2 separate regions of the Homo sapiens genome follow, and region 1 is linked to region 2. The links are contacts of gene promoters, found by promoter capture Hi-C in blood cells and fetal thymus (Javierre and others, 2016). All regions are on one chromosome and are shown on one strand. Each heading gives the region's core, a stretch centred on a gene start or on the middle of the fragment in contact. The rest is flanking DNA. Distances are from core to core; before and after follow the strand shown.

Region 1 (4,809 bases), core at 2,014-4,513, 1.4 Mb before region 2:
AGTCAGAATACAGAAAATCATTTAGATTTCTTTTTTTTTTTCTTTCTTGAGATGGAGTCTCACTCTGTCACCCAGGCTGGAGTGCAGTTCTGTGATCTCAGCTTACTGCAGCCTCCGCCTCCTGGGTTCAAGTGATTCTCGTGCCTCAGCTTCCTGAGTAGCTGGGATTACAGGTGCCCACCACCTCCACTGGCTAATTTTTGTATTTTTAGTAGAGGCAGGGTTTTACCATGTTGGCCAGGGTGGTCTCGAACGCCTAACCTCAAGTTATCCACCCGCCTGAGCCTCCCAAAGTGCTGGGATTATAGGCATGAGCCACCATTCCTGGCACAGAAAATCATTTAGAGATTTTGGAAGGAGAAAGTGACAAGATGATTGTGTAGTTTTGGTTGTTGTTGTTTGTGTTTGGTTTTGGTTTTGAGACAGGTTTTGGCCCAGGCTGGAGTGCATTGGCATGATCATGGCTCATTGCAGCCTCAATTTACCAGGCTCAGGTGATCCTCCCACTTCAGCCTCCTGAGCAGCTGGGACTACAGGCATGCACCACCACACGCAGCTAATTTTTGTGTTTTTTGTAGAGATGAGGTTTTGCCATGTTGCCCAGGCTGGTCTCGAACTCCTGGGGTCAAGTGATCTGCCTGCCTCAGCCTCCCAAAGTGCCGGGATTACAGGTGTGAGCCTTCACACCCAGACTTGTGGTTTTTGTTTTTGTTTTTTAATATTTTCCCAAGCCAATCAATTAGATATCCTATAATTGGGGATTTAGGTCTAGATTCCCGGAGTCAGTTTGGCAATGTAAATTTCAGTGCTGCATTCACTTAGCTCAGGTTTCAGTTGCATTGGTAGATAAAGTGATAATTTAATTTTTCTTTCACTATGAATTAGTCTCAACTAAATTTGTGTTCTGAATATTTGCATTGAGGTCAGAGGCCAGACATTTAGTAGTGGCCAGGCATCTTGAATTCATTTGTTGTTTTCTTTCTTTTTTTATTTTATTTTAAGGCAAGGAGGACTTCTTGTTAATTTCCATCCTTCAATTCTGACCTGTCTACTTCCCCAGTTGACCAGCCCTAGACTTGCAGTGAGGAAAAGAACCATTATCGCTCTTGGCCATCTGGTTATGAGCTGTGGAAATATAGTTTTTGTAGATCTTATTGAACATCTGTTGTCAGAGTTGTCCAAAAATGATTCTATGTCAACAACAAGAACCTACATACAATGTATTGCTGCTATTAGTAGGCAAGCTGGTCATAGAATAGGTAAGAAATCTTTAAAAGTTTTACAGTTTTCTTTAATTAAAAAAATTAATGCATGTTTTTAAAGAACCATTATGCTTTTCTTAGGTGAATACCTTGAGAAGATAATTCCTTTGGTGGTAAAATTTTGCAATGTAGATGATGATGAATTAAGAGAGTACTGTATTCAAGCCTTTGAATCATTTGTAAGAAGGTAAGTTTTTAAGATCTCTATTTTTTACAAAAAGTTTTTCCTTAAGAGTAGAATCATAAGGTCTACATTAGGTGTGTGAGGAGAAGCGGCCTTTTGGATTTCAGATATAACAGACAATACAGTATTTGAAACTAATGTCATCTTGCTATTATAAAATGTGGTCATCACATTTATTTTGAAAATTTTCCTTGTCATTGTTAGGACTTTATTTAAAGAATTTTGGAAAGGTATTTATAATTATTTTGGGTTTACTTTAGAAGGGAAGAAATGCCAGTGTAATAATGTAGTCTGTACTGAAAGCCCAGCAGGATAAATTATTCGTCAGAAATAAGTAGTGAATTGCCTTTTCAACAATTTCTTAGGTCACATCCATTTTGCTAGGTCAGTGATTCTCAATTTGGAAACTGATTCTAATATATTTTTTAAAAGCTTAGTAAAAGTTGTGTATTTGTGTACTAGAAGGCAATACAAGATAAGTAACATTATTTTTCCTCTTGACTAATGCAGTAGCATGGTGTCTTGAGACCTTACTGGTTGTTTTCTGCATTTATCCCTTGACACTCCTGGTTTTGAGAAGTGGCTTTTAATCATACCATATTCTGAAAATCAGAAATTGTTAGATTCATTTTTGTTCCTTTAGTTGAGAAACACAAAGTATTCTTTTATTTGCTGGCCCTGTGGGCATTTATATGTTCTGTCCTCTCATTACATCGGTAGAAGACCAAGCCTAGGTGAATATGCACTGGCATTTCCACAAATAATCCTAGTTACTGAAGAGCACATTCATCTGGGTTTGGTTTTCTAATAACATGTTGATTATATACCGATTTCTGTCTATACTGCCATACATTAACCATAACATAGTTAAAATCGGGATTAGGGGAGTTCATCTTAAAATTGATTAAATAAGTACAATTTGAAAGGTAAACCTTTTAAAATAGTAAGTCCATGGGAGAGAAAGAGCAAGAATCATTGGTGCTAGATAGTCTGGGAACTACTGTCCTATGTTATTGCTGGTAATAAAGCAAAATGTGGCAGGTAATGAATCAAGGAGTAAAATGCAGCTCTTCAAGGCAGCTTTTGTTTTTGTCTTTAGATGTCCTAAGGAAGTATATCCTCATGTTTCTACCATTATAAATATTTGTCTTAAATATCTTACCTATGATCCAAATTATAATTACGATGATGAAGATGAAGATGAAAATGCAATGGATGCTGATGGTGGTGATGATGATGATCAAGGTATTGCAAATTAAATAGAATCTTTTGAGTTTTTGTGAAAGACACTTATAGATGGAGATGATTCTTAGTCCAAATTGTACTGTTTGTTTTATTTAGTTATAATAGTGAAAAGGGAAATGATCTCAATATTTGACAACAGCAAATTAAGTTAGAGGGCATCCATGTATTGAACTGTTATGCAACACATTAAAAAATCATGTCTAAAAATCATTCATTAATGCTGTTAATAAGGTGAGTGAAAAGTATGTAGCAAAAATTGCTCACCATAGCCCAATTTTATTTCTTTAAGTATACAGAAAAAAATCTGTATATTTACAACTAGTACTATTACCACTTGTTTTCTCTTGGCTAGGAACTATGTATGATTTTTGGTTTTAAGTACTATTCAAATTTTCTACAAAGCATTTTTGTAAGGAGATAAACCAAGGTTTTAGAAAGAATTGAATCTGTAGATATACATATTTAGGGCAGCTTGGCTTGAAAGAATATTAGTTTGTTTATTCATAGTTCATGAAAAATTCTAAATACTGTTCGAGGCCCCATTTAACATTCATTAATAGCTTACAACATTTCTGAGGCTCCTAAGATTGATGTAATCACACGATGATTTATGATATTTACTCTGGAAAGTAGTAGCAGCACTTCAAGGACATAGGGGTTGCTCATGTCAGTTGTTTCTGTTTGTATTGGAAGAATCATAATAACAAATATTTAAGTTGGTAAATTACTAGGTAAACAGGTTGGTGGATTTTTTGTTATTTTTGAGAATACTTTTTAGTTTGATTCTTTGAATGAATTTACATAACAGCTTTCCTGTCAAGTCAGTAATTTCACCCATCTTTAAAAAACAAGTACCAAAAGAGTTTCTTAACACCATATACTCCTCTAGCAGCTGCTGCCTAGTTTCTCTCCTCCACAACAGAGCTCCTTAAAAGAATGCAGTTCCATTTTCTTTTTTCCATTCTCTCTTGAATCCACTCCTCCAGTGATGGATGAGATTGCAAATGTTTGACTCTGCCTATCGTATTACTCAGTCTCGGCAACATTTCTTTATTTAGCTTCTGGGATACCATTCTAGCCTGGATGTAGTCCTATCGTTGTGATTACTCCAGTCTTCGATGCTGTTTCTTCTTCTTCACCCTGACCACTGTACTTAGAGTATCCCAAGGCTCAGTCCTTGAACTTAACCTGTTATACTGTTGATTTTTTTGTTGATCTCATCTAGTCTCCTGGCTTTAATATCAATATGCTGGCAACCCACATCCTATCTTTAATCCAGATCTCACTTGTGAATCCAGATTCATATGCAACTGCTTAATTAATATTGCTGCTTGGATATCTAAAATATCTTTTCCCTGCCCCTTCCCCATCTCCCACCTAACCTGTTCTTCTTTAGCCTTTTCCATCTCAGAATGGTACCTCTATTCTTCTTAGTTGATCAGGCCAAAAACCTTGCAGTCATACCTGATTCCTTTTTCACACATCCCTCAGCTAGTCTTCCACCTCAGAACTATCTTTCATTTTATTGTTTTTATTTTGTTTATCACACTTAGTAACTTTCTGACATACTGTAATTGATGGTCTCCTACCTATTAGAATATAAGTTTCATGAAGGCTAGATGTTTTAATCTCTTGATTGACTGCTTTATTCCAGTGCCTAGGACAGTACTTGACACACAGGCAATCAATAAATGGGTTGTATTAATGAAGGGAAACTTTAGCTTATATTTTAATATGAATATCTTTTGAAGAAAGCAGTAGCAATGTATATTCCAGGTTTTGAATTTTGTTTTTTTGTGTGCTGTATAACAAACTAGGTACTTCACCTGCTTTATCACTTAGTATGAATTATACCCATTAAATGACTTTTCTACCATGGTGTTTTTGTGATTTATAAAATCAACGTAATTTTAGTGAATAAGGACATTTGTTAATTTTTTATAATCTTGTTTTTAATAAAGCTTATATTTCTGGGAGGCAATTGCCATAGTGTATTGACATGGAAAAAATTTTATGTGCTCTTAACTTGATAGTGTATTTTGGCAGTATCTTTTAACTTTATTTGAATAGATATTGGTAAATAAGCAAACGTCTTGCATTTAGCAGTATTTGGTTGTA
Region 2 (5,053 bases), core at 2,403-4,902:
TTATTAGTAATTTTTTCTTTTGCATTACCATGTAAAATTTAGACATTTGAATTTTGTACTTTTCAGAATATTATCGTGACACTTTCAACATGTAGGGATATCAGCGTTTCTCTGTGTGCTTGTTAATAAAACTATATAAAAATTAAAATTTTCTGTTTTTACAAATTCCAGGGTTGTCTCTTTTTCATGTAATAAGAAAATTAAATTTTCTGTTCTAGTTTTTTCTGTAATCATAAGCATTCTGATATTTTAAAATCATAAAGATGATGGAAAGTAGATTTATTTTTAAGCCAGGTACGTAATTTTTTATTTATCATAAAATTTAGTATTTTTGAATATTAAAATTAAGAAGATGACTATAACAAGAATTTTTCTAACATAACATGCTATTATTATTTTAGTTATTTTGAAGACATTTCTAGTTTAACTTTCATTTAGCAAACTTCCTATCAAAATAAGAGCATATAAAGACTTAGCGTAGTACCTGGCACACAGTAAGCACTGAATATATTGGAGATTACAGATCCCGCTCTTCTAATAGGGGAAATACCATAAGTACATTTAAAAGGTGTCATTTAAAAATACAAGTAGTGGCTGGGTGCAGTGGCTCACGTCTGTAACCCCAGCACTTCGGGAGGCCGAGGCAGGTGGATCACCTGTCGTCAGGAGTTTGAGACCAGCCTGGCCAACATGGTGAAACCCTGTCTCTACTAAAAAAATACAAAAATTAGCCGGGCATGGTGGCAGGTGCCTGTAATCCCAGCTACTCAGGGGAGGCTGAGGCATGAGAATCTCTTGAACCTGGAAGGCAGAGGTTGCAGTGAGCCGAGATCACGCCACTGCACTCCAGCCTTGGGGACAGAGCGAGACACTGTCTCCAAAAAAAGAAAGAATTACAAGTAGTCTGAGCAGGAAGAACCTCTCTCCAGCTGAAAAGACTCTCAGGAAGTAGTATTGGTTTGGGGTTTGAGTAATGCACTGAATTTGCAAAGGCAAAGAGTGACACAAGAAGGATGAGGCTCTATAGATTAAGAAATCAGTATGAGCAAGAAATGATAAATGCTGGGCATTATTATGAACCAACAAATACACCAAATAGGCTAGAGTGTAGGGCTTATAAACAGGAGACAACTAAAAGAATGTGATTCTAATAGAAAACAGTAATTCCCCAAACTTGCTAATCATCTAAGGAATTTCTTGAATATGTATTTATAGATGCCACCCCTAGAGACAGCTGGCTTGGGAAGCCTGAGATGGGATCATAGAATTTGATCAGTTCTATATTATGTGCTTTTTTTGTTTTATTTCTCTAAAGAATTCATCTTGTCTTCCTGTTTTCTTTATTCTTACTAATATGCAAATGATTTTTACAGCTCATGCAGTCCTGTAATCATGATTATTGCTATGCTACTTTGCAAAAAATAAAAACAAAAAATTCATACCAAAACAAATACAGACTAGATTTGGGGTGGGGAGGGGAAATAAGTGAGTCTTAAAAGTAGTTTTGTTACTTGCAACAAACTGTATATATAGAAACTTTGTACAACCCAGGGTGACTATTTCCAAAGACTGTTACCTATTTGTTGAACAACAGTGGGAAAACTACTTAGCCTAAATGAGGAGGAGGAATATTGTATGCTTCCATCGTAACCGTATGTGGGTAAATGGACAAGGTCTGTCATCTATTTAGGAACTTGTTTTGCATGTCCCCCACTCTGTATTTGTCTTTTGTTGTGCCTTGTTTTTTGAATGTCCTTTAAAAAACACAGCACAGAAACCCACTAAGGTTGTGGAATTACAAAATTCCTTCAACCTTAGACTCTTAATTAGGATGCCCTCAAATGGACTTGTTTTTAATTTTTATTTATTTATTTATTTTTGAGACATGGTCTTGCTCTGTCTCCCAGGCCGGAGTGCAGTGGCATGATATCTCACTGCAAACCTCCGCCTCCTGGGTTCAAGCGATTCTCCTGCCTCAGCCTCCCTAGTAGCTGGGATTACAGGCGCCTGCCACCACGCCTGGCTAATTTTTGTATTTTTAGTAGAGACGGGGTTTTGCCATGTTGGCCAGGCTGGTCTCAAACTCTTGACCTCAAGTGATCCACTCGCCTCGATCTCTCAAAGTGCTGGGATTACAGGCATAAGCCACTGCACCCAGCCAATTGGACTCCTTTGAGTCCTTAGGGAGTCAATGTGTGTGTTGCTGCTTATTTAAATACAGTTCAGTTGGAGCCCCAAGAGTGCCAATGTGCTCCTCACAATTCCCAAATGCCTCTCTTCCTGAACACCAGAAGTGGTGGGCACCTGAGTGGGAAATTTCAGGCAACTTAATTTAGTTCCTCAGTGCCTACTCTTGAAGAACTGGGTTTTCATTCTAGAGAGGAAACTCAGGGAAGGGCGTGTTGCCTATCACAGGTTCGCATACTAAGTTTTAAAAACTTTTCTTGGTGTGACTTATGCCAAGGAATTATGAAGACTTTTTCCTTGAGCATTGCATGAAGGCTACAAAGTTGGAACAGGCATGTCCTGGGTGTGAAAGTTTTAATTTCCCTACCTCATTTATTTATTTAATTTAGAGATGGGGGTCTCACTATGTTGCCCATCCCGGCTTCCAACTCCTGGGCTCAAGCAATCCTCCCACGTCAGTCTCTCAAATAGCTGGGACTACAGGCCCACGCCACCATGCCCTACTTCCTCATTTATTTTAAATTTTTTGTACCACAGTCTCTCTTTTTAATTTTATGACTGCTGAATTAATCCTAGACTCTGTCTTAAAACTAAGAATTGATGTATTGGCAGGAACAGCTGGACATTCAAGATGTTTTTGTGATTCCTTTTTTAAAAATCTCCTTTTGTACCTGTAATATCTACAATATATAATCTTTCTTTATCGACTTAAGGAGGAAGGAGAAAGGAAGAACCTGACTTCTGTGTGAAGGACCTTACTGTCGATCAAGACTGTTACTCAAAGTTCTATCTCTTAGTCATTGCACCTGACCTGATCCAAAACATATATATATATTTGTATGCACCCCTAGAGACAGCTGTATATATATACGGTTTTGCCAGGTTGTACGTTTTTTTCTCGAGTTGTAAGTGAACACAGTAGCACTCGTTTACATTGTCAAGGGGACATCTTTAGAGAACACATTTTCTCACTGTTGAGCTAATAATGCTTTGTGAATGTATGATCTAAGGAGAAACCCTTGTAGTTATACCCGATGATGCTGTCTGTTGGAAAGTAAATTTTGAATGTCTTTTTCCAAAAATAAAAAATAAAAACATGCTTTCAATAAGTTCTTTCCCCCCTCTGGCGAGGGCTACTAAATTTGCTCAGCATTTAATACGTAAAATTGGCTAACAGTGTCTGCACAGCCAGAGAGAAGTTGTCTAGCAAATCGGGTCAATGACACACAGGAAACAAACATCAAGAAAGGGGTCCTAGATTGGTCCAGTCAGGTAGGCGTTAGGTGACCAAGGGGGTCGGGGACCCAGAGGATAGGACCCAAAGACGCAAGCGTCGCGCGCCCAAGGCTCAGCGCGCCTGCGCAGGGTAGCGGCCGTTCAGCCAGCGGCTCGGGGGCGGAAGCACTGGAGCCCCGAGTCACGTGGCTGCGGGCGGAGATGAGCGGGGCGTGGGACGTGCTGCGGCGTCCTAGCTGGCTTACAGGGCGGCGGCGGGGTGTGTGTCCTCTGTTAAGAGTGCTACTCGCCCGGGGTTGATCTGTGCATGCCACTCCTGGGTCAGACGGTGAGGTCGGCGTCTGCGAGGACGCGGCGGTGGAGTAGAAGGGCAGCCGGAGACAGGCCCGGCGCCCCTTCCGAGGCTAGACGGCCCCAGCTTCGCGGGGATCATGGCATTGCTGGTGGACCGAGTGCGGGGCCACTGGCGAATCGCCGCCGGGCTCCTGTTCAACCTGCTGGTGTCCATCTGCATTGTGTTCCTCAACAAATGGATTTATGTGTACCACGGCTTCCCCAACATGAGCCTGACCCTGGTGCACTTCGTGGTCACCTGGCTGGGCTTGTATATCTGCCAGAAGCTGGACATCTTTGCCCCCAAAAGTCTGCCGCCCTCCAGGCTCCTCCTCCTGGCCCTCAGCTTCTGTGGCTTTGTGGTCTTCACTAACCTTTCTCTGCAGAACAACACCATAGGCACCTATCAGCTGGCCAAGGCCATGACCACGCCGGTGATCATAGCCATCCAGACCTTCTGCTACCAGAAAACCTTCTCCACCAGAATCCAGCTCACGCTGGTGAGTAGCTTCAGCTTCCCAAGGCGCCGCTCTCCCGACCCACCTCCTGCACTGGCCCCGGGAAATTCGAACGCACACTGGTCTTTCCCTTCATCTTGAAATCCACAAATGAGTCATCTGTGGGCATGTGAACTTTTAGGCTTATTTTAGGGAGGGGGAAAAGGCCATCTTGTCAGCCCAGAAGAGTGGGCATGTGTGAATTTTAGTAGCTGCCATTTGATGGAAATCGTTAAATGCTGTGATCGATAAGAAAAAAAGCTGTATTGGGTGGTACAGTCCAGTGTTATCAGAATATCTGCAAAAGCTCAAACAAAAACAGCCTTTCTCCCCCAGGGGAATCAAATCGTGTATGATAAAACGTGAAAAGATGTAGCATAAAGTAGGTCTCAAAACGTCTGCAGCACCATACTTTAGAGCTGTCTGCATCTTTAAATAAAAGGAGGTGGACTCAATTTTAGCACTTAGTAACTTATTTAAGGTCTTTTTCTTTTTTTTTTTTTTCTTTTTGAGACGGAATTTCACTCTTGTTGCCCAGGCTGGAGTGCAATGGCACGATCTCGGCTCACCGCAACCTCCGCCTCCCGGGTTTAAGCGATTCTCCTGCCTCAGCCTCCCGAGTAGCTGGGATTACAGGCATGCGCCACCACGCCCGGCTAATTTTGTATTTTTAGTAAAGACGGGGTTTCTCCATGTTAATCAGGCTGGTCTCGAACTCTGACCTCAGGTGATCTGCCCGCCTTGGCCTCCGAAAGCGCTGGGGTTACAGTGGTGAGCCACCGTGCCTGGCCTTATATTTA

The links. The method cuts DNA at HindIII sites, captures the fragments that hold promoters and counts their contacts. A CHiCAGO score of 5 or more calls a contact.
Region 1: a contact is called between a fragment that was not itself captured here and the fragment with the promoter of SLC35E3 in region 2, in 1 of 17 cell types (naive CD8 T cells). The highest score is 6.4, in naive CD8 T cells.

Annotation. Positions count from the first base shown.
Region 1 is chr12:67,296,405-67,301,213 of GRCh38, forward strand. It overlaps CAND1 (cullin associated and neddylation dissociated 1), which reads left to right. Exons shown (of 15, transcript NM_018448.5): 5 at 1,003-1,259; 6 at 1,344-1,449; 7 at 2,546-2,691. Among named protein-coding and RNA genes, the nearest start is that of CAND1, 29 kb to the left of the region's middle. The HindIII fragment of the contact is 2,774 bases long and covers 1,877-4,650 here.
Region 2 is chr12:68,742,524-68,747,576 of GRCh38, forward strand. SLC35E3 (solute carrier family 35 member E3) reads left to right here and starts at 3,653. Exons shown (of 5, transcript NM_018656.5): 1 at 3,653-4,256. The coding sequence starts at 3,855. NUP107 (nucleoporin 107) reads left to right here. Exons shown (of 28, transcript NM_020401.4): 28 at 1-3,286. RefSeq lists enhancers at 3,326-4,016, 3,866-3,965, 4,016-4,125, 4,486-4,675. The HindIII fragment of the contact is 13,773 bases long and covers 1-5,053 here.